Linked DNA regions of Homo sapiens: all the other regions are linked to region 1. The links are contacts of gene promoters, found by promoter capture Hi-C in blood cells and fetal thymus (Javierre and others, 2016). All regions are on one chromosome and are shown on one strand. The core of a region is centred on a gene start or on the middle of the fragment in contact, and the rest is flanking DNA. Distances in the headings are between cores, read along the strand shown.

Region 1 (3,244 bases), core at 427-2,926:
AAATATTTTTGATCTGCAGCTGGTTAAATCCACAGATGCAGAACCCAGGCACAGGAAGGGCTGACTGTATGTGACCGGGAGTGGAGGGGGATCTATATAAATATTTCCACAAAATAGCAAAGGGTACTTGGGATTGGGAGCATGAACAGAAATGAAAACAAACCATTATAAATTTAAAGATGACTGGTTATCACTTAAATTTAGTGTCTACAGCTATTTATTTATAAAATGGTAATTGTGTTTTAAAACTTTCAATGGCAACAAGTTACAACAGTAACTTCAGAATAGCGTTCACTTGAAAACATTGGGTGAATGGCCTCTATAATTTTTTTAGCTGAAATGTATACACCGCCACGCAGTGAGGAAACTTGACTTTAGCACCCTTTTGGTATTTTTAATAGAAAAAACAGTGGAGAAGATTTTCACATGTCTAGAAAGGTAACATGTTCAACTTAGGTTTGGCCAATGCTGATTCTGAGGACAGTACTACACCCGCAAGCTTCCAAACTACTTCCTGATTCATTCAGATTTTCATTGGAGAGCTGTCATCCTGCTACTGACCTCATTCAACCCAGTTCGGAGTGAGAGATCAGCGGATTACCGCGCTAGGTACCGTAGCTGTACGCCATATTGTGTTTTTCGCTAATGTTTAGTTTGTGTGTGTGCCTAGCATATGTTTGTGCAAGTGTGTTTATCAATAGAACTTTTAGAAAATCCCTGCCTCCTGCCTCTTCAGCATCCTTAAAAAGGATAACAGCTGGGGGCGGGGGGTGGGGGGAGGACCCAAAAGCCACACAGACAGGAATACATTAAACAGTGTACGAGAGACGGCATTTGTTTTAAACTTTCAAGAACCTTCCAACCATTTTTATATCAGGAATCAAAAAGTGTTAACATGTTTTAATGTTTCCGAAGTGGCCCAAAGAAGAGAAAGAAGGAAAGGTGTGTCTTCCCTTCCCAAGCCCCCTCCTCTCTAGTCGTAGAAGCGAAGCAGGCGGGGGCCGGGAGCTCCGGCGTCTGGAGAGACATCCAGCGGCTGTGGGGCCAGGACACCTCCTGCCCCCCAGTTCTCTGAAGACGCTCCAGAGACCGCGAGAGCCACGGCAAGCGGGGGAGGGCGAGGAGGGAGGGGGCAGAAGACAAGCGGGCGCCTCTAGCAGCTCCTGAGCCCCGGCTAGTCCCCCTCAGCTCCTCTTCTTGGAAGCAGCGGCTCCAGGCGCAGGGAGTAGAGAGAAGAAGGCAGAAGACACGTTTCCAGCTGCGGGACGTCCCGCCCGCCCCGCCACCCTTCGACCCTCCCGCGCCTCCCTCCCACCTCCCCGCCGGGTCGGGCGAGGCAGCCGCCGGGCGCTAAGAAGGGCGCCGGGGGAGGGGGCGCGGGCGGGGCGGGGCGGGGCGGGGCGCGGGGGCGCGCGCGCTCATCCAGCTCAGGGCCCGCTGGCTCGCCGCTCTGTAACTCGCTCCCCCAACCCCACCCCGCTCCCCTCCTTCCCAGTCCCGCCGCCCCCCACTCCAGGCGCCTCGCAGACGCCTCATCCCCCTCGGCACGCACACACTCCTCCCTCTCTCCCGCCCGTCCCACAACAAATTAGAGTTTGTGGCATTACCTCCTCGCGCTCTTTAATCTTCTTTCCTCAACTCCTAAACTTCCCCCCGCCCCTACTTCTTCGGCAGAAGGCCCACATTGGACGCTTCACTCCGCGAACCCTCTATCTCTCCCCGCTATAGGATAGCTCTCACGCCAATCTTGGCTTCAGTGAGCCAATGAGAATGGGACGCCCCTCGTGAGGTTGCCGCCCATAAACAAAATGCACTCTTCCTTCTCCCCTCCGCCCCCCCGTCCCCGCCCCTTTCTTCCTCTTCCCTCATCTCTGTCACCTTCGATTGGGCTAAAAGAGGCCCAATCCGCTATCTCAAACATCCATTGGGACGCGGAAACTTCGCTCAGAGAAGTATTAACAGGCGATTGGTGGACAATCCTTCCACTTCGCCCACCCCCACAACCCCCTCCCCCCGCCGCACCTTCACCCTTTCTGAAAAGGTCAATCGTATCTCGTTGTTCAGTGATCCGGGAGGTGGAAGGCTATTGGTTCAGGGAGCCCGTCAGACCGGACTGGAGTGAGCCATGATTGGTCGACACAGGCGCAATCAGGTTAGGTTGCTTACTCCTCCGCTCCTCCCTCCTTTTCCTCCACGCCCCATCTCCCCCACCCCCTACTGCTTTTACTTTCTACGCATTTCTATTTCCTCCTTTATTTATTTATTTGTGATAAACTTAAATGACCCGGCGACGGAGGCGGTACTCTAGGAGAAGGCTGAGGATGACGAGCGGCGGCCTGGGGCCAATTGCCGAGAGGGCTGCGGGGTGAGGGGCAGCGGCGGTGGCCAGTGAGAGGCAGGTGTCTGGAGCGCGCTGGGCCTGTGGAGCCGGGATGCCCCAGCGGAGGCGGCGGTTACCCGCTGTCTGGCGCGGCGAGCTGCGCCGGGGGAGCCGCGGGAGCGGAGAGGGGGGTGTCGCTGTCTTGGACAGCTGAGGCAGCGGGATGGAGGCTGGATCCCGGGCGGTGGGTGGGAAAGCCGGAGGGAGGGTCTGGCTGGCGGCAGCGCGCAAGGCCGCACCGGGTCACGCTTGATTCCCGCGGAATGGGGCGCAGGTTGCCAGACCGGGTCCCCAGTGCTAGGGCTCAAGGAAGAATTTGTTCATGCAGAAGATTTAGAAAAATACTATGTAAAAGAGTTTGGAGTAAGCCTCCCTTAATATAAATGAGATTTATTATCCTGCCGGAAAAAGCAGATTATGTTTCTTATTACTGAACGCCTGAAGTACCAACGACTCAACCAGAGCCCACAGAATTCAATATCCTGGGTGGTAAAAGGAACAAATAAAGCAACACGGAAAATTAAGTGTGGTTCAAATGCTTCAATAAAATCTTCGTCCTCAACCATTTGTCATTCAACATAGCACTCCCCAGAGCCAAATTCTTACCAAATATTGGTCCAGTACTCAGGCATTGGAGAAAAAAATGAGGCTGAAGTCCAGCAGGAAGCCCAGGATAGATTCCTAAAAAGGATTTCTTACAAGGGCCAAGATGGGAGGGTTGGGGAAATCGCTTTTCACTATACAAAGAAAAAAAAATAATTACTGCCAAACTAAGTTGCACTTTTTTAGGCAGCTGATATAGCAATATTTTGTCACAAAATAAGAGACTTTATCAAAAATACCATGCATGCAAAGAATACACTG
Region 2 (3,244 bases), core at 263-2,762, 1.6 Mb before region 1:
TGTTCCTTATCTCTTAGTGAATCAGATAACAGAATCTATTAACTTTTTCCCTAAAAATCTCTCTTGCCCGCTCTTCTCCATCTCTACTAAAAATATTTTTGTTCAGGCTCTCATTATTCTAATTAGTCTCCCTTTCACTCTTCACTCACTGACTTCATCATCCATCTATTAATGTAACTAATATTTTGAAGCACCATCTAAAAGCGAGGCACCAGATATAACAAGAAAGTAGAATAGTCTATGCCCTTGCAGAGTTAAGAGTTTCTAAGAGGACCGCAATTAAACAAGTATTTACAACAAAAGGGCAGCATGGGAAGTAAATTCTGTGTGCCATGAAAGTACCTAACTAACTCTATGCAGTAAGTAAAAGCTTCTCCTCTCTGTAATACCCCCAAAAATGTTTGCACTGAGAGCTAAAATACGAATAAAAGTTAGAAGCAGGGGAAAGAATATTCCAGGCAAGGGAAAATGCATTTACGAAGAGTTTGAGAAGTTCAGTTCAATTAACAAAGATCTGAGAGGGTGAGAGGTTAAAGGAAGAAAGGCAGACAGCAGATTGTAGTCTTGTGAGCCACAGCAATCTGAACACCTAAGACCATAGGAAACCACTGAAGAATTTTAAAAGGGATAGTTATGACTGGACTTAGTAAATCCACTCTGACTGGTGTGGAAAACTGATCAAAGAGAAACAAGAACTCTTTCCAAACACTGTTGAATCAATCCTACCTAAATACATGGATAGAGAATAGATCTGAACCCTTTACCTACTTCCTCTAGATTCGGATGGCTCCCCACTGTCAAAAGCAATCCAACTCAGCTTGGCATTCAGACCCTCTCCCCCATATGGCCCGGCTGACTTTTCTTTCCAGTGTTCTCTCACATCTCCCGCAAATCCTAAAACCAAGCTCTCGCCTCACACACAGTTGCAACCATTCTTTTCCCTCTGCTTGGAACACTCATTAGGCTCACTCTCTTCTCTACTGGGTTAACTTCCACGGACTCCTCAAAACTCACAGGAGGAGCCTTCTGAGAAGCCCCTCTGACATCCATCGATTTAAATGACGCTCCCGGTCCCAAAGCACCCTGGATAGTTTGCCTCTCTCCTGCTACACGGTGAACTCCCCCAACGCTACAATCGAGCACCCCCAATTACCAGCTCTGTGCAAAAGCTCCCGAAAGCGGTGCGCACGCGCATACTCGAGGTGCTCTGGCGCCACGCACAAACATACCCAGACACGCACCCTGACACGTACTTGCACTCTCAAAACACAGAGCCGCGGCTGCGCTTCCTGAAGTAAGGATTCCCCAACCGGGCGCCTGGATCCCAGGCAACAGACAGATGCCACCACCGTTCTCCCCACCCTTTTGGTAGCCCTGGTCCCTAAGGCTCGTTGGGACTGCGAGCTGCAAGCCTCAGATCCATCATCTCAACCTGCCTTGCAGTCGGTCCCGACTGCCGCCGCCACCGCAGCTAAAACTTCAGGCGCCGGAACCGCGGAGCGCGCCACAGGTTAACCCAGCCAGCGGCTTCCGGGCTGTTGCCTGGGTTACCAGAGCTCCGCCCCACGCCCTTGCGTATATCCGGCGAGCCCAGTGCGCAGGCGCCTCCCAAAGCCTATCTCGGGTCCTGAGTCTAAGGGAGAGAGGTTCCTCTGCAAGGTTCAGGGCAAATTATTAAAGAATAGGTATATAGCAGGCCGGGCGCGGTGGCTGACGCCTGTAATCCCAGCACTTTGGGAGGCCGAGGCAGGCGGATCACGAGGTCAGGAGATCGAGACCATCCTGGCTAACACGGTGAAACCCCGTCTCTACTAAAAATACAAAAAATTACCCGGGCCAGGTGGCGGGCGCCTGTAGTCCCAGCTACTCGGGAGGCTGAGGCAGGAGAATGGCGTGAACCTGGGAGGTGGAGGTTGCAGTGAGCCGACATGGCGCCACTGCAGTCCGGCCTGGGCGAAAGAGCGAGACTCCGTCTCAAAAAAAAAAAAAAAAAAAAAAGAATAGGCATATAGCATTAGCCGGTGCCTCGAGAATTCTCCAAAAGAAAGATGTTGCTCTCCTCACCAGACTTCACATATCACTTAATTTGCTTTCATCTCTATTCATTTGTTTACAAATCTTTAGTAGTGGAATCCCAGCACTTTTGGAGACAGAAGCAGAAGGATTGCTTAAGCTCAGGAGTTTGAGACAAGCATGGGCAAGATGGCGAAACCCCGTCTCTACGAAAAATTAAAAAATTAGCTGGGCGTGGGAACACGCCTGTAGTTCCAGCTACTCAGGAAGCTGAGGTGCGAGGATCGCTTGAGCCAAGGAGGGCAAAGCTGTAGTGAGCCACAGTCATACCACTTCACTCCAGCCTGGACGACAAAGCAAGACCTTGTCTCAAAAAAAAAAAAAAAAGTTGTTTATTACAACCTACAAATGTGCGGGAGAGCTAGGTTCTATGGGGCTAAAAACAGGCAAGGTGGGAAACTTACAGCATATTAACAGACAGTTATCAATGACAAAAACATTAAAATTATGACGAGTGCTAAGAAGGAAGCACTCTAACCAAATACTTAGCTTATTATTATAGTAATATTTGAATTACTCAGGAAAGCTCAGACATGAATAGGCCAGTGGGGAAGGGGAAAGCATTCCTGCAGAGGGAGCTGCATGTGCAAAGATGTGGAAAATGCAAGGGACAGGAAGAGGTCCAGTGTGTCTGAAGTTTAGAGAACAGTGGGAACTTGCTGTGAAGGGGAGGCGCCCTGATAGGCTGGATCCACGACAGTCAGAGCTGCGTGGACCACGTTAAGAACTTTACAAAGCACTTGATTCAAAAACAGAGTTTATTTGCTCTGGTAAGACAATTTCCTCTAGCCCCTTGCTTTCTGCTGTTACAATACACCCATGTGTGGTCTGCAAATACATGCCCAAAACCTTCTAGAGGAAAGGTACTGCCTTTAATAGTTTTCACTCTGATTGAGGAAGTTTGATGTAGATATATTTAATAATCAACAATCATCCACTTGCTTGCATCCTCAACTCCCTGCCCCTCTCTAAATTGCTGTAATCACTTGGCAAAATGACCATATTAGCCATCCCTACTTTACACTTACTAAGTGCTTGCACCCATGCAGCTGAATCTGAAAAAAAACACCCAATCATGCTGACTTTAAATTCATGATTACTGATGTTAAGTAGGACCTTAAAGATGCTTGAACATCTCATTACAGGTCCCTGTTCATTGATTTTCCTACAT
Region 3 (3,244 bases), core at 222-2,721, 1.4 Mb before region 1:
CCTCCTACCTCAGCCTCCCAAGTAACTAGGACTACAGTTGCATGTCACCATGCCTGGATTTTTTTTTTTTTTTTTTTTTTTTGTAGAGACAGACTTGCTATGTTGCCCAGGCTGTTCTCCAACTCCTGGACCCAAGTAATTCTCCTCCTTCAGTCTCCCAGTGTTAAGATTACAGGTAGGAGCCAACATGCCCAGCCTGTATTTACTGTTTTTAAAAAAACTGCCAAACTGCTTTGCAAAGTTTGGGTACTATTTTATATTCCCACTAGTAGTATATAAGAGTTTGAATTTTTCCACATTCTTGGCGACACTTTATATGGTCAGTCTAATAATTTTCATCTTATTATTATTTTTTTTGAGACTGGGTCTTGCTCTCTTGCTCAGGCTTTATTGCAGTGGTGTGATCACGGCTCACTGCAAACTCCTGGGCTCAGGTGATCCACCCACCTCAGCCTCCTGAGTAGCTGGGACTACAGGTGTACACCACTATGCCTGGCTAGTTCTTGTATTTTTAGTAGAGATGGGGTTTCACCACGTCCCAGGCTAGTCTTGAACTCCTGGGCTCAAGAGATCTGCCTGTCTTGGCCTCCCAAAGTGCTGGTATTACAAGTATGAGCCACCGCGCTCGGCCATGATCAGTCTATTTAAATTCTCATCATTCTAATAGGCACATAATGATATTTCATTATGACCTTAATTTGCATTTCCCTATTTACTAATGATGCTGCACATCTTTACATGTGCTTATTAGCCATTTATATGAATTGATGAAGTGTTGTTCAAATGTCTTGCCCATTTTTACTGGGCTGTTTTTTGTTTACTGAGTTTCCAGGGTTCTTTATATATTCTGATTACAAAACCTTTTTCAGATATATGCTATGCAAATGGTTTTTCCCAGTTCCCAGTTTGTATTTTCATTTTCTTATCTTTCACGTAGTAATTTTAAATCCAACTTATCAATTATTCCTTTTATGGATTATGCTTATGATGTCATAACTAAGACATCTTTGACTAACACAAGGTCACACAGATTTTCTCATGTTTTTTCTTCTAGATGCTTTTCAGTTTTATATTTAGATTCATTCTGTATTTTAAATTAATTTTTGCATATCGTGGAGGTGTGGATCAAAGTTTATACATTTTATTGGAAAATCCATTTCTTCCAACATTGGTTGTTGAAAAGACTATCTTTCCTCCACTGAATTGTTTGTATCTGGGACAAAAATCAAGTGACCATATATTCACTGATGCATTTTCGGACTCTTATTCCATTCCATTGATATATTTGTGGGCATTGACACCAACACCACACTGTCTTTATGCAGCTTTATGTGTCTTAAAGTCAAGTAGTGTTAAGTCCTCCAGTTGTGTTTTCCTTTTATAAATCGTATTAACTCTTTTCTTCACGTTTCCATGTAGACCTAAGCTCATCAATTTAAACAGGAAAACACAAGCCTTCAGTGTTTTTGACTGAGATATATATAATTTGATATGAGGACAAGTGACAACAATATTGAGTTTTGAGATTTATGAACATGTTATATTTCTGCATTTATTTGGATCTTTAAAAATGTTTCCCAGCAGTGTTTTATAACTTTTCGTATACATGTCTTACATATATTTTGTTAAATGTATCTCTAAATCTTTTTACATTGTTATATTATTAATTTTCCATTTCAAATTTTTTAATTGCTGGAAATACAACTGATGTTTGTATTTTGTGACCTTACTACACTCCTTTATTAATTCTAGTAGCTTTTTTTTAAAAAAGATAATCTTAATGTTTTCTACTTAATCATCTGTAAATAAAACCATTTTACTTCGTTACAATCTGCATACTTTTCTTGTTTTATTGGACTGGCTAGTCTAATATACAATTTTGCACTTACTGAAATCCACTGCAATATTGTATGGCAATGGTGAGAGCAGCCATCCTTGCCTTCGTCCCAAACTTAGTGGTAAGGCATTCAGTCTTTCACCATCAAGTATGGTGAAAGCTCTTATAGATAACTTTTTCAGATTAAATAAATTCCTTTTTATTCCTATATTGTTCTAACTCTTAAAAAATCATGAATGGGTGTTGAATTTTGTTGAATACCTTTTTCCTGCATCTATTGAGATAATAATTTAAAGATCGTTAATATGATAAATTACACAAATTAGTTTTCAATTGTTAAATCAACCTCTCATTCTTGAGACTAATCCTATTTGATCATAATATATCCTTTTAATATATTGCTGGATTTGATCTGCTAATACTTTCTTAAGGATTTTCCAGTCATAATTCATGAGAGATATCGGTCTATAGTTTTCTTATAATGTCTTTGTCTGGTTTTAGTGTTGGTATAATGCTGTCCTCATAAAATGAGTTATGCAGTATTCTTTTCTATTTTCTTGGAGTAGGTAGGATTGGTATCACATCTTCCTTAAATATTTGATAGAATTCACAAAAGAGGCCATCGGGCCTGGGATTTCTTTGTAGGGAGGATTTTAACTACAAATTCAATTTCCTTTATATATACGAGACTATTCAGGTTTCCTATTTCTTTTTCTTATGAAAACAGCTTTACTGATATTGTTGCACACCATACAATTCACCTATTATGACCGAACAATAGCTCTTTCTGTGGATATAGTTGATGGACACTTGGGTTGTTCTCACCCTTTGGCTATTATGAATGCTATGAATACTCATGTACAAGTTATCATGTGGACATTTCTGATGTATATGTTGCTGAGTCATATGGTGACTGTCTAACTTTTACAAACCTCAGACTTTCCTCTTAAATAACGTTAGTAATTTGTCTTTCAAAAAATATGTCCATTTCATCTAAGTTGTTGTATTGGATGAATTGATTATCCTTTTATTCTAGGTTCTGTAGTGTTGTCCCCTGCCATTACTGATATCAGTAATTTGTGTCTTCTCTGTTCTTTGGTCAGTCTAGATAGAAGTTTATCAATCTTATTTTTTCAAAGTGGCAGTTGCTTTGTTTGTTGTTTTGTCTTCAATCTCATTGGTTTCTGCTCTTTATTTTTTCCTTTTCAGCTTACTTTAGGTTTAACTAGTTCTTGTTTTTCTAGTTTCTTAAGATGGAAACTTAAGATCTTTTATTTAAGATATTTTTCCTCCCATACACATTTAATGCTGTAAATTACCCTTTAAGCATGTTTAGCTGCTTGCTGCAGCTTTTGATATATTTTCATTTTCCTTCTGTTCAAAATATTCTCATTTCTCTTGCAACAG
Region 4 (3,244 bases), core at 422-2,921, 1.4 Mb before region 1:
TTCTAAAGTTCTTATGAACATAATAGAGTTGCCTAAAGCATAAATCAATTATATTTCAATAAATATTTGAGTATCTATGTGTTATGCATCTGGAATGCAAAGGTGTTTACATCTGGTAGGAAAGACAGGTATATACAATGTGCTACTAACAGTGTATGTACATATAGTACAAAAATAATACTAGAATGAAGGTGACAATGGGAAACATTTTGAAGAACGACTAGCTTATCCTGTGGAAGGGCAAGAGATGCAGTCTAATAAAACATGAACAAAACAGCAGTGATGTAGTCCGAAAATCAGTCAGTTTGATATGGCTAAAACATCAAGTATGCTTGTGTATAAATGCGGAAGCTGAAAAAGAACCAATTTTATGACGGCCTCGTATATGGACGCATTTGGTTATCTTCTCTATAATTATTCTCTTGGTGATCTCATTCAATCTTGTAGTTGTGTGGCTTTAATGCTGCCAATTTCCAAATTTCTGTCTCTAGCCTATAGTTCACTCCTGAACTCTACATTCCTAGATCCAAGCAATCTCCAGCAGACACTTCAAAGTGAACATACTGCAAACAATTTCAAATCTTTGTTCCAAAATCTGCTTTGCTTGCAGTTTTTCCTGTCAATTGATGGCCTCTCCATCCTTGGCTGCAGTATATGTTAACTCCAAGTCTTTGTTCACATGGTATCTCAAAAAGGCTTACTCTTGATACACTTTTTTCCTTTTCTTTTTTTTTTTTTTTGAGACGGAGTCTCCCTCTGTTGCTCAGGCTGGAGTGTAGCGGTGCAATCTCAGCTTATTGCAACCTCCGCATCCTGGGTTCAAGCAATCCTCCTGCCTCAGCCTCCTAAACAGCTGTCATTACAAGCATGTGCCACCACTCCTAACTAATTTTTGTATTTTTAGTAGAGATGGGGTTTCACCATGTTGGCCAGGCTGGTCTTGAAATTATGGCCTCAAGTGATAGGCTCGCCCACCCTGGCCTCCCAAAGTGTTGGGATTATAGGCGTGAGCCACTGCACCCAGCCCTTGTAATATTCTTGATATGTTTTCTTATCAGGGTTATCTTGGCCTCAAAGAAAGTTTGGAAGTGTTTCTTCCTTTCTGCTGTTTCATTCAATCAATAAAAGAAAGCTTCAGGTATTTTCAAATTAGAAAGTGCACAAATATTTAGGACTACTGTTGATAATTTGACGCTTTTATCATTTTGAAATATCCTTTTTGCTGGCAATACTCCTTGTTTTAAAGTCTACTTTGTTCATTAATACGCAGTTTTCTTTCTTTCTTTTTTTTTTTTTGAGATGAGGGTCTCAACTCTGTTGCCCAGGCTAGAGTGCAGTAGCACAGTCTTGGCTTGCTGCAAGCTCCGCCTACGGGCTCAGGGGATCCTCCTGCCTCAGCCTTCCAAGTAGCTGAGACCTCAAATGCATGCCACCACTTTCAGCTATTTTTGTTTTGTTTTGTTTTTGTATTTTTGGTAGAGACAGGATTTCACCATGTTGCTCAGGCTGGTCTTGAACTCCTGAACTCAAGCAATCCACCTGCCTCAGCCTCCCAAAGTGCTGGGATTACAGGGATGAGCCACCAGGCCTGGCTTTACAGCTTCCTTCAAATCAAAGTTTCATGTTCTATCTTTTACCTTTTTCTTTTTACTTTTCCTTGTGTCCTTATATTTAAAGTGTGTGTAAATAGCATATAGTTGGATCTTATTCTTTTAATCTGACAATTGGAGTATCTGGTCCATTAAGATTTAATGGGCCAGGCACAGTGGCTCACACCTGCAATCCCAGCACTTTGGAAGGCTGACTCGGGTGGATCACTTGAAGCCAGGAGTTCAACACTGGCCTGGCCAACATGGTGAAACCCTGTCTCTACTAAAAATACAAAAAATTAGCCAGGTGTGGTGGCGCGTGCCTTTAGTCCCAGCTACTTGAGAGGCTGAGGCAGGAGAATTGCTTGAACCCAAGGGCAGAGGTTGCAGTGAGCCGAGATCGCCACCACTGCACTCCAGCCTGAGTGACAGAGTGAGACTGTTCAAAAAAAGATTTAATGTAATTATTGAATTACTGATTTAGTTGATTCAAGTCCATCAGCTTGCAATTTTCTATTTGTACCAAGTATTAACTGTTCTTCATTTTCCTGCCTTTTATGGGCATCAGTTTTGATTGATTCCTTGGCTTTCGGAAAAAAAAAAGAAAAAAAAAAACTTTTTAAAGCTTACATAAAATTAAATTCATCTTTTTGGTGTATAGTTCTGAGTTTTTACAAATACATATAATCATGTAACCATTACCAAAATATACAATTTAATTACTCCCAAAACCTCCCACATGACCCTTTAAAGTTCAACTCCCAAGCAGCCACAAATCTCTTTTCTGTTCCCCAAAGTTTTGCCTTTTCAAGAATGTCACATAAATGGAATCACAAAATACATAGCTGCTTGTTTGGTTTCTTTCATTTAGCATAATGTCTGAGACTCACCCCGGTGTTGTGCATATCAATAGCTCATTCCTTGTTAATGCTGAATGGTATTCCATTATGTGGATGTACTGTAAATTTATCCTCTTGTTGAAGAGCAGTTGTTTACAATTTTAGGTAACTGCAAGTAAAATTCCTATAAACATTTACATATAAGTTTTGGTATGAACATAAGTTCTTATTTCTCTTAGTAAATACCTAGGAGTGGGAATGCTAGGTCTTAAGTGTATAGGAGTTCTACTGTTCTGAATCTTCATCAGCATTTGGCATTGTTAACTTTTAAAATTTATGCTAACAGGTATGTAGTGACAATTTATTGTGGTTTTTAATTTGCATCCCCCTAAATAATAAATGAAGTGAGCATCTTTTCATGTATTTCTTTGCCATTCATGTTATCATCTTTGATAAATTAATTAGTTCAGATTTCTTGTCAATTTTTTAAAAACTGGTTTTTCTTGAGTTTTGGGTGTATTATGGATACTTGTCATTTGTAAGTTATGTATGTTGCAAAGAATTTTTACCAGTCTATGGCTTTTTTCATTTTCTTATTGTTTTTGGGAAAGTTTTACATTTTGACAAATTTATTTCATGGATTTATTTCTGAGTTGTATTCAAGAAATATGCCTAACTCAAGATCACAAAGATTTTTATGTTTTCTCTAGACATTTTACATTTAGGTGTATGAACTCCCTCTTTCTTAAATCCCCCTCATTTCTTTCTCCTTAAGCAGCCTTCTTGAGGTATAATTTATATACCATAAAAGCCATG
Region 5 (3,244 bases), core at 392-2,891, 1.4 Mb before region 1:
GTCAATTATATTTCCCTAACTGGAACTCTTTACAACTTGATGTGAAACAATGCAGGTACTGTGAATAGTTCATGGTTCTTAAACTTTAAAGATTATTAGTACAAAACATACAATTCAACATTAGAATAAATATCCAGTATTTAAAGGAAAATTAAAGTAAGGAAACATGTTACAGACCTAAGACCAAATTAAACTTTCTTGGAATCTCTTCAGGAACCTCAAATACCGATACACAGAGGTAATATTTAGGTCCTTGTTTGGGGCAGTATGAGATTACGTTGAAAGTGACTTTTATTTCATCCTCAAAAGTGCTATTGAATAGTTGGAATGACTTCGTTAACTTAAAACATAGTTACGACTTCTTAATCGACTTACAACAACAAACTATGGCATCGCAGAGAGCTTTTTAACGTTTATGAGCTTCATCTCTTTGAGGGTAAAGACAAGCTCCAAAACGGCTTGAGACAATGCTTCGGAAAAATGTTACGTAATTAATACATTAAAACTATACAACTTAATGGTAAGGAGACATTTCATAAAAACTTAACCAGTCGATCCAAAATAATTCCTAATTTTACGTAAGAGGCAAACGGTGAAAGACCGAACATTAACTTTGCCAATCACCTGAAAGGAGCAGCGTGGTAGAACTACCCAGGACCGCCTCAGCACTCAGGGGCAATAGTGAACTACTGAAGCAACAGCTCCACCTACTGATCCACCCTATACTTCCTTAAATATGTTGGCACCCCAAGTCTACAGTGATCGCGCTCTCTCCCCCTCCTCCACTCGCTGTGACCCAACCCAAATCTAGTTGAGTCACTAGCTCTTAATACTCATCCCCGTGCTCTTTATTCCAATTTCTTCTTCCTCCAGAAGGTTCTGCACAGCTCCCAAGCGTGAATTAAACTGAAAGGTGTCAAACACCGCAGTTCCAGAGTTGAGTCTGGAGGTGGAAGACAACCAAACCACTCCACCTGGAGCTGCGGGCCGGCGTGGCTCAGCGGTCCGCTCCCGGGAAGGAGGCCCCGGGCGCTTCACAATAGCCTTTCCATGTTGCCCCACTCGGTCGCTTCTCCCCACTCAACAACCCACACTCGTCTCCGAACCGAAACCCTGAAGCCCCCCGGGTCTTGCCTCCGCTGGCCCTTCAGCCCGCCAACAGCCCGAGCCTCGCCTCCGCCCCCTCCGGGAGCCGAGGGAACTGAGAAGCAGAGAAATCTCCCTCCGCCCGTCTTCGCCCTGAATCTCTCCTCGCCTTTGCGGCTCTCCCCCTCTACATGGGCCCGGACCCTTCTACCCCACCGGCCGGGCCCTGCCCGGCTGCCCTTCCTCACCCTTTCATCTTCCCCGCCTGCTGAGGCCGTCGTTACCACCGATATCAACGCCGTCGTAGTCGCCGCCCTTAGGTCTCCGCACCCTTAGCTCGGGCCACTCAACCCCGCAAGCCGGCCTCCTAGCCTGGGCAGGGAGCTGTGCGAGCAACGAAGGCCGCGAGAGTCGAGTGAGGGCTTGAGTCTGGTGGGGGCGGGAGTGTCTCCCGCCGCCGCGCTTGTGCCGCCGCTTCTCCACACGTGCACTCGGGTCTCTCGGCTCCCTCCCGCCGCTGCCGCCAGCCAGACCCGCTGCCGCGCTGTGACCTTTCACCCCGCCCCTCGCGCGCCGGCGCGCCGCCGCCTCACGCGCAGCCGCACTGCTCGCCTCCGCGCACCCTGCCCCCTCCACTCCGGAACCTCCATCTTTCTCCTGGACTGGGCCTTCTGGGGTCATGCTCCTCCCTCCCACCCGCTTACGACACTGCTTGTGGGGCTGGCTCGGTAGGCCCTGGCGGTAAAATCCAGATTTTTCCACCCCTCCCTCTCTTGTCCCATATCCGCAAGATAGTTTTTCTCAGCCCCGTTCTTCCCAGTTTGTGGTCTCCAGAGTGACCTTCAAACGCTGTTGCCTCCTAGTAGGGTTTTATAAAGTTAGTTCTTCTAAATGTAAAGAAATCTGTGGAAAGCTCAAGTTTAAGTTAGGTGTTTTAAAACAAACGTAGTTAACAATCGGCCAGATAGATTGGCTACCCTCCAGCACGCCTCAAGTTTTAAGATCACGTGATTGGCCCAAACCTCAGAGCCTGGAATTTTACCGGCGGACTCCAGAGGGACGGAACGCCACCGCCATTTCCTGTCCCTCGATTGTGGCGTGAACGTCACTTCCTTAGCAATGCGCTTTAACTCTTGCTGTCCACATTTTCCACATTGTACTTTATAACATACTCTTTGTGAAAATTTATCTTTTATTTCTTTAATCCAAGAAAATTAATATTCAAGGGATCCGTAAAAATTCAGGCCCCCCGAGATGTAGAGCGCTGGGATGGAGGAGGCAGGGCGGAGCTCGACGTCATGTGACTGGTTGGGCCCGCCCCCCCCCCCCCCCCCAACCTGTGCAGCTGAGGACTTCCCCTCCGTGGTGACAGCCTCTGGGTCCTCGGTCGGTACAGTCTCTGCACCTCGCGCCCCAGCAGGTGAGCGGCGACCGGTAACTGGCGAGTGGTGGGGATAGAGGGGGTGGAAGGAGGCAGAGGAAGGAGAGAAGGGAGAGTGTGAACGGCGACTTTTCTGCCTGAGGCTTCCTCCCCGCTGTCACCCTGCACCGGCAAGGAGCTCATTTCTCCTTAACCCCCGCTCCCCCAAGTGTGGTCGTTCCCGCTACTTGGGGATTCAGATGTCCACCTTTCCCAGGGTTGGAAGTGAGTGCGGCCATTATGGTTCCCTACTCAGAGCCTTTGGGGCTTCGGGTAGCAGATTGTTTCAGCCATTTCACAGGGTCTGCAGTAGACATTAGGTCCCATTCCTTAAAGCCCATTCTTTGGCAAAGGTCCTCACTGTCCTTACCCTCAGCTCAGGGCTGAGGAGCGGGGAGGTAGCAAAAACCCTGGAGGCAGAGGCGTCTCCGGTGAGACAGGCTTGGGAGGGACTGTCACTGATACGGCCCTCACTGCAGAGTCACTGTGAAGCTTCCCTCCGAATGTGCTTTCTCAGTGATTCTAAGGATTTTATCTGACATACCTGCAGGGAAGGTTCCGTAGATGTTCACGTGCTTCGGATGGGACTAGAAAAGTAAAAGAAGGGCTTTTACTTTTTCTTCTCTGCAGAGAGGACAGTTGAAGGAATACTGTCTTCAAAACAGGAGGTGTTAGTAATGCGACAGTCTCGATTGAATGAGGAGGCGTTGAAAGATGGTATTGTGGTGTTGTGGTGTG
Region 6 (3,244 bases), core at 372-2,871, 1.3 Mb before region 1:
ACTTTCAAAGGCTCAGGCAGGAGGATGACTTGAGCCCAGGAGTTCAAGACCAGCCTGGGCAACATGTCGAAATCCCGTCTCTACAAAAAATACAAAAGATTAGCCAGGTGTGGGGCACACACCTGTAGTCTCAGCTATCTGGGAGGCTGAGGTCAAGGCTGCTGCAGTGTGCCATGATCCCACCACTACTCTCCAGCCTGGGCAACACAGTGAGACCCAGTCTCAAAAAACAAAAAAAATTAGTATGTCACGTCTAAAATAAATGCTGATGTGTATTCCCTTTTGTCTTAGTTGCCAGGCAAATTAGAGCTTACTTCATAGCTGAGCAACAGTTGCCTTACTCCAAGTGCCTATTAACCTCTAGCACATGTGTTCTTCTGAAATGACATCTTCTCTGTTTACTTCTTTTAAATATCATGTACTGCAGGTCATTTTTTAACTTTTTTTTTTTTTGAGACAGTCTTGCTCTGTCATCCAGGGTGGAGTACAGTGGCACAATCTCGGCTCACTGCAACCTCCACCTCCTGGGTTCAAGCGATTCTCCTGCCTCAGCCTCCCAAGTAGCTGGGATTACAGGTGCCTGCCACCACGCCCAGCTAATTTTTTGTATTTTTAGTAGAGACGGGGTTTCACCATGTTGTCCAGGCTGGTCTTGAACTCCTGACCTCATGTGATCTACCCGCCTCGGCCTCCCGAAGTGCTGGGATTACAGGCGTGAGCCACCGCATCCAGCCATTTTTTAACTTTTAAGTGGCCTCTTGTTCTTTTGGAAGTACACAAGATAAAAATAGATAATTAAATGAAATTATTAGTAGGAACTCAAATGTATAAGATTGTTTTTAAAATATTTGATCAGTTGAATTGTATTTATTTCTGTCATGACATCCAGGCATATTTACTAACCACCTACTGAGAATGATTCTCTGAGTGTATATGTAATATAAAAATTTTTAAATTATATATATATTTTGTGTGTGTGTTCACACTATAGATTGAAAGTAAACCTGTACAAATAGGTAAGCACTACATTGAGAGTTTAAAAACATTTACACCTTTTTAGTCTTGTCATTTCACCTTGAGATAAATAAACAAAGGAAGTAATCAGAATTTTGATACGGATATACACGGTCGTTTATTAAATTCTTTTTCTTTTTTTTTCTTTTTTTTTTTTTGAGATGGAGTCTTGCTCTGTTGTCCAGGCTGGAGTACAGTGGCACGATCCTGGCCCACTGCAACCTCCCCCTCCCAGGTTCAAGCAGTTCTTCCTGCCTCAGCCTCCCAAGTAGCTGGGATTACAGGTGCATTCACCACACCCAGCTAATTTTTGTATTTTTAGTAGAGACGGGGGTTTCTCTATGTTGGCCAGGCTGGTCTTGAACTCCTGACCTCAGGTGATCTGCCTGCCTCAGCCTCCCAAAGCGCTGGGATTACAGACATGAGCCACTACGCTAAACCAAATTTCTTAAATGTCACCCAAGAATGAACAGAGCCAACAGTACATTATGGTGTGTCCATAAGATAGATATTATGAAGGCATTACCATTTTTGTCAAAAATATTCAAAGACATGGAGAAATGCTTATGGCACAGAGTGAAAAAACTTCCATATGTAACTTGATCCAAATATTGTCTTAAAAAACTATATATTCATAGAAAGAGGATGAAGAAGAAATATACCTGTAGTAATGATGATTTCTATTTACATGCTTATTGTGTCAAATTAACATCACAGGTATTTTTTAATGTCATTACTCTTCTGTAGCATTGTTTTGTGGCTGGAGAGTAATATTTTTCTATTCTTAGACACTTAGAAAATTTCCAGTTGTTGGCCGGGCGCATTGGCTCACGTCTGTAATCCCAGCACTTTGGCAGGCCGAGGCGGGTGGATCACCTGAGGTCAGTTCTAGACCAGCCTGACCAACATGGAGAAACCCCGTCTCTACTAAAAATACAGAATTAGCTGGGCGTGATGGTGCATGCCTGTAATCCCAGCTACTCAGGAGGCTGAGGCAGGAGAATCACTTAAGCCCGGGAGGTGGAGGTTGCGGTGAGCTGAGATCACACCATTGCACTCCAGCCTGGACAACAAGAGCAAAACTCTGTCTGAAAAAAAAAAAAAACAAAGAAAAGAAAAGAAAATTTCCAGTTATTGGTGTGGACAACCATGTAGTTGTGTGTAGTTGGTTTTGTGCATTTTCTTAGTATGGAGTCCCAGAAGTGGAATGATTGGGTTAGAGACCTGGAACATTTTAAAGTCTGTCTCTTTTTTTTTTTTTTTTTTTTTCTGAGACAGAGTGTCACTCTGTCACTAGGCTGGAGTGCAGTGACGCGATCTCAGCTCACTGCAACCTCCGCCTCCTGGGTTCAAGCGAGTCTCCTGCCTCAGCCTCCCAAGTAGCTGGGACTACAGGTGCACGCCACCATGCCCAGCTAATTTTTTTGTATTTTTAGTAGAGACAGGGTTTCACCATGTTGGCCAGGATGGTCTCAATCTCCCGACCTTGTGACTCGCCTGCCTCGGCCCCCCAAAGTGCTGGGATTACAGGCGTGAGCCACCAAGCCTAGCTAAATTATCTTTTATACATATTACTCAGTAAGTTGCCTAAATTTTACTTTTCCATCCCAGTGTGATAATACCAGATGTTGAGCAAATTCTGTTTTGATTAAATTAATTCCTAATTATCATGCATTAAGTCATGTTCATCTAATATATGAAGCGGCATAATTTCCCACTATTGTGCACATTGTTGAGGATAAAGGCTTTGGTCACTGAATGTGGTTATCAGGCAAAATGCAAAATTAAAATTTTGTTTTCTTTCTGTTTGGTTGGATTTGTATCCTTAAGAAAAAGGGAAAATGAGTATAGTTTTACCTCCTGCCTGTGGTTTACCAGTGTCCCTCACTAAACCTAGTACTCAAAATATATAAAATACGAGTAACCTGGGCCAGGTGCAGTGGCTCACGCCTGTAATCCCAGCACTTTGGGAGGCCGAGGCAAGTGGATCACTTGAGATCAGGAGTTCAAGACCAGCCTGGCCAACATGGTGAAACCTGTCTCTACTAAAAATATGAAAAAAAAAATTAGCTGGGCGTGATGGTGGGCGCCTGTAATCCCAACTACTTGGGAGGCTGAGGCAGGAGAATCACTTGAAGCCAGGAGGTGGAGGTTGCAGTGAGCCAAGATCGTGCCACTGCACTCCAGCCTGGGTGACAGAGCAAGACTCTGCCTCCAAAAAAAAAAAAGT
Region 7 (3,244 bases), core at 448-2,947, 1.3 Mb before region 1:
CTAGCAAAAGAATGGATAACTTTAAAAAGTATTGGTATTTACAGAGTTAAGCTACAGGGATCTGGGAAGTTCACTAATGTAGAATAATTCATATGTTCTAGCCTGGCTAAATCAGTTGTTCCACAGTAGTGAATTTAGAGGGCAGCATGATATAATTGAACACATTGGAGACTGCGAACAAAATATCTGGAATAGAGTCTCTGCTCTGCATCTGGTGATTTCAGGGTGTGGTCATCTTGAGTATGTTGCATAACCTGTCTCACCTCAGTTACCTCACCTATAAAATTAGAGATTGGGTCATGGTATTACAACACTGGTCTGTCTTGAATCAGTAGTAACCTCATGCTGTTTAACAGATTGGCTAATAAGTGCCTTTCTGACAGTAAGACTAATTTAAATAATAAGAATTAACTCTCTATGGCTGTTGATAGTGAGCAATGGCTTAAGATTTTCAGATTTTTTATTTCAATTCTATAGTTTAAAGATAGGAATCTTAGTTGTTGTATTTGTTTTTTTTTTTATTTTAAAATATTGGGCCAGACATTGTGGCTCATGCTTATAATCCCAACACTTTGGGAGGCCAAGGTGGGAGGATCACTTGAGGCCAGGAGTTTGAGACCAACCTGAGCAACATAGTAAGACCCCCATCTCAACAAAACAAAATAAAAATTAGCTGGCTGTGGTGGCTTGCACCTGTAGTCCCAGCCACTTGGGAGGCTGACATGGAAGGATTGCTTGAGTCCAGGATTTGAGGTTATGGTGCGCTGTGATCATGCCACTGCATTCCAGGCTAGGCGACAGAGAGAGACGCTGTCTCAATAAAATAAGATAAAATAAAAATTTAATTCTGTATGTGAGAAATGAGTTTTATTATTACCTTTTAAACCCTAATTAAACAATAAAAATTATGTGAAATGATGAAATGAAATTTAAAATAATGGCAAATATTTATGCTTTTGCCCATTAACTTAGTAAAAAAATATATAGCAAAATGTAAAACAAACAAACAACCAAAAAACTCTTAAAACAAAAGACTTACTTTCTTCTTGGCTAGAGTAATAGTATATTCCATGTGGATTAAGATCCCAGAGGCAAGGCAGACAAAGATCTGCAACATATGCATTTATTTAGTGCAAATTCTTTTAGCGATATAGAGTAAGCAACTATTGGGAGTAGAAAATAGCCTTTGAGATTGTTCATTGTGTGTGTTCAGAAGATGACATACTTACCTGGGATTTTTTAATAGAAGTAATAGTGCTTTGGATAAGCTAGTTAATATTTTATTTATTTATTTATTTATTTATTTATTTATTTATTTATTTTTTATTGATCATTCTTGGGTGTTTCTCGCAGAGGGGGATTTGGCAGGGTCATAGGACAATAGTGGAGGGAAGCTCAGCAGATAAACAAGTGAACAAAGGTCTCTGGTTTTCCTAGGCAGAGGACCCTGCAGCCTTCCGCAGTGTTTGTGTCCCTGGGTACTTGAGATTAGGGAGTGGTGATGACTCTTAACGAGCATGCTGCCTTCAAGCATCTGTTTAACAAAGCACATCTTGCACCGCCCTTAATCCATTCAACCCTGAGTGGACACAGCACATGTTTCAGAGAGCACAGGGTTGGGGGTAAGGTCACAGATCAACAGGATCCCAAGGCAGAAGAATTTTTCTTAGTACAGAACAAAATGAAGTCTCCCATGTATACTTCTTTCTACACAGACAGGGCAACCATCCGATTTCTCAATCTTTTCCCCACCTTTCCCCCCTTTCTATTCCACAAAACCGCCATTGTCATGATGGCCCGTTCTCAATGAGCTGTTGGGTACACCTCCCAGACGGGGTGGTGGCCTGGCAGAGGGGCTCCTCACTTCCCAGTAGGGGCGGCCGGGCAGAGGCGCCCCTCACCTCCCGGACGGGGCGGCTGGCCAGGCGGGGGGGCTGACCCCCCCACCTCCCTCCCGGACGGGGCGGCTGACCGGGCGGGGGGCTGACCCCCCCACCTCCCTCCCGGACGGGGTGGCTGGCCGGGCGGGGGGCTGACCCCCCACCTCCCTCCCGGACGGGGCGGCTGGCCGGACGGGGGGCTGAACCCCCAACTCCCTCCCTAGAGCCCCTCCAGCTAGTTAATATTAAATATTCTTTTGTGCTTTGATAATTCATTAAGATCTTTAAAAATATTTGTCAATTGTATATACTTACTTTTTTTTTTTGCTGTACGTTTATTCAATGCAAAATAATAATACTCTCCAGTTTTACTGAGGTGGCTGACCACGTCCACGACCAAATCTGCCTTTAAACTGGAATTCGGTTGCTGACACAGCCCCAGCCTCGACTTTCTTGTTGGCACCAGGGGGCACAAAACTCCGTCTGTAGGTATCTCTGTCGGCTTCCCCTTTTGTGAGTCTTGCAGGTCGCTCACCCTCCAGACCTTTAGGCCAAGGCCTGCCAGTCTCTGGATGGCTGCAGCGTAGGGTGGCAGCACAGTCTCCGGGGCAGATGAAGATAATCATGGAGATACTGGATGCCCTCATTGGTAAGGTACCAGTAGAAATGTCTCCAGGCAAACTGTTCCTTCACGTAGCCTCAGGACTTGAGAGACTGCATGGCCTTCATGACATGAAGGTTGGGCACATTCTTGTCTGCCAGCTCGGGTGCTTAGGCATGTGGACGTCCTTCTTGGCCACCATGACTCCCTCCTTAAAAAGGAGTTCATAAATGGCAATCCGGTTCTTCTTAGGCATCAACATCTCCGCTGCTGTAGGGTCCGGGGCTGAGGCTGGAAAGGATATACTTAATTTTTTTTTTATTTTTATTTTTTTAATTTTTATTTTTTTTGAGATGGAGTATTGCTCTGTCACCCAGGCAGGAGTGCAGTGGTGTGATCTTGGCTCACTGCAAACTCCGCTTCCCCGGGTTCACACCATTCTCCTGCCCCAGCCTCCCAAGTAGCTGGGACTACAGGCGCGTGCCACCACGCCCGGCTAATTTTTTGTATTTTTAGTAGAGACAGGGTTTCACCATGTTAGCCAGGATGGTCTTGATCTCCTGACCTCGTGATCTGCCCTCCTCGGCCTCCCAAAGTGCTGGGATTACACGCGTGAGCCACTGCACCCGGCCTATACTTCTTTAATAGCAGATTTAGCTAATCATTGTATTTTTAAACTGGAGGGATTTGTAAAGTTTTCTGAAATGCGTAACTAAAATTAAGTTTACTCAGGGGTCCTTTGTGTGTTCCTCTTTGAATAATT

What was found. The method cuts DNA at HindIII sites, captures the fragments that hold promoters and counts their contacts. A CHiCAGO score of 5 or more calls a contact.
Region 2: a contact is called between the fragment with the promoter of SPICE1 here and the fragment with the promoter of ZBTB20 in region 1, in 1 of 17 cell types (neutrophils). The highest score is 5.6, in neutrophils.
Region 3: a contact is called between a fragment that was not itself captured here and the fragment with the promoter of ZBTB20 in region 1, in 1 of 17 cell types (neutrophils). The highest score is 9.5, in neutrophils.
Region 4: a contact is called between a fragment that was not itself captured here and the fragment with the promoter of ZBTB20 in region 1, in 1 of 17 cell types (neutrophils). The highest score is 8.5, in neutrophils.
Region 5: the fragment with the promoter of NAA50 here is called in contact with the fragment with the promoter of ZBTB20 in region 1 in 4 of 17 cell types (neutrophils, fetal thymus, monocytes and 1 more); the score reaches 14.9 in neutrophils.
Region 6: a fragment that was not itself captured here is called in contact with the fragment with the promoter of ZBTB20 in region 1 in 1 of 17 cell types (neutrophils); the score reaches 6.1 in neutrophils.
Region 7: a contact is called between a fragment that was not itself captured here and the fragment with the promoter of ZBTB20 in region 1, in 1 of 17 cell types (neutrophils). The highest score is 10.2, in neutrophils.

What each region holds. Positions count from the first base shown.
Region 1 is chr3:115,145,612-115,148,855 of GRCh38, forward strand. It overlaps ZBTB20 (zinc finger and BTB domain containing 20), which reads right to left and starts at 1,677. Exons shown (of 12, transcript NM_001348800.3): 1 at 1,608-1,677. RefSeq lists enhancers at 353-462, 2,193-2,402 and silencers at 1,143-1,412, 1,723-1,892, 2,453-2,672. The HindIII fragment of the contact is 9,545 bases long and covers 498-3,244 here.
Region 2 is chr3:113,513,644-113,516,887 of GRCh38, forward strand. SPICE1 (spindle and centriole associated protein 1) reads right to left here and starts at 1,513. Exons shown (of 18, transcript NM_144718.4): 1 at 1,254-1,513. It overlaps SPICE1-CFAP44 (SPICE1-CFAP44 readthrough (NMD candidate)), which reads right to left and starts at 1,513. Exons shown (of 52, transcript NR_183050.1): 1 at 1,254-1,513. RefSeq lists enhancers at 1,200-1,319, 1,380-1,429, 2,136-2,185, 2,696-2,745, 2,806-2,855. The HindIII fragment of the contact is 3,693 bases long and covers 369-3,244 here.
Region 3 is chr3:113,709,629-113,712,872 of GRCh38, forward strand. No RefSeq gene overlaps it. Among named protein-coding and RNA genes, the nearest start is that of USF3, 15 kb to the left of the region's middle. The HindIII fragment of the contact is 3,661 bases long and covers 1-3,244 here.
Region 4 is chr3:113,728,264-113,731,507 of GRCh38, forward strand. All of the region lies in intron 1 of NAA50 (N-alpha-acetyltransferase 50, NatE catalytic subunit), which reads right to left. Among named protein-coding and RNA genes, the nearest start is that of NAA50, 16 kb to the right of the region's middle. The HindIII fragment of the contact is 1,082 bases long and covers 1,131-2,212 here.
Region 5 is chr3:113,744,608-113,747,851 of GRCh38, forward strand. It overlaps NAA50 (N-alpha-acetyltransferase 50, NatE catalytic subunit), which reads right to left and starts at 1,642. Exons shown (of 5, transcript NM_025146.4): 1 at 1,335-1,642. The coding sequence starts at 1,342. ATP6V1A (ATPase H+ transporting V1 subunit A) reads left to right here and starts at 2,428. Exons shown (of 15, transcript NM_001690.4): 1 at 2,428-2,506. RefSeq lists enhancers at 486-1,222, 826-975, 1,223-1,958, 1,959-2,694, 2,016-2,385 and a silencer at 1,546-1,665. The HindIII fragment of the contact is 6,662 bases long and covers 1-2,996 here.
Region 6 is chr3:113,806,026-113,809,269 of GRCh38, forward strand. The region is part of intron 14 of ATP6V1A (ATPase H+ transporting V1 subunit A); the gene reads left to right. Among named protein-coding and RNA genes, the nearest start is that of GRAMD1C, 31 kb to the right of the region's middle. The HindIII fragment of the contact is 5,942 bases long and covers 1-3,244 here.
Region 7 is chr3:113,847,989-113,851,232 of GRCh38, forward strand. The region is part of intron 2 of GRAMD1C (GRAM domain containing 1C); the gene reads left to right. It also overlaps the pseudogene RPS10P4. Among named protein-coding and RNA genes, the nearest start is that of GRAMD1C, 11 kb to the left of the region's middle. The HindIII fragment of the contact is 5,215 bases long and covers 1-3,244 here.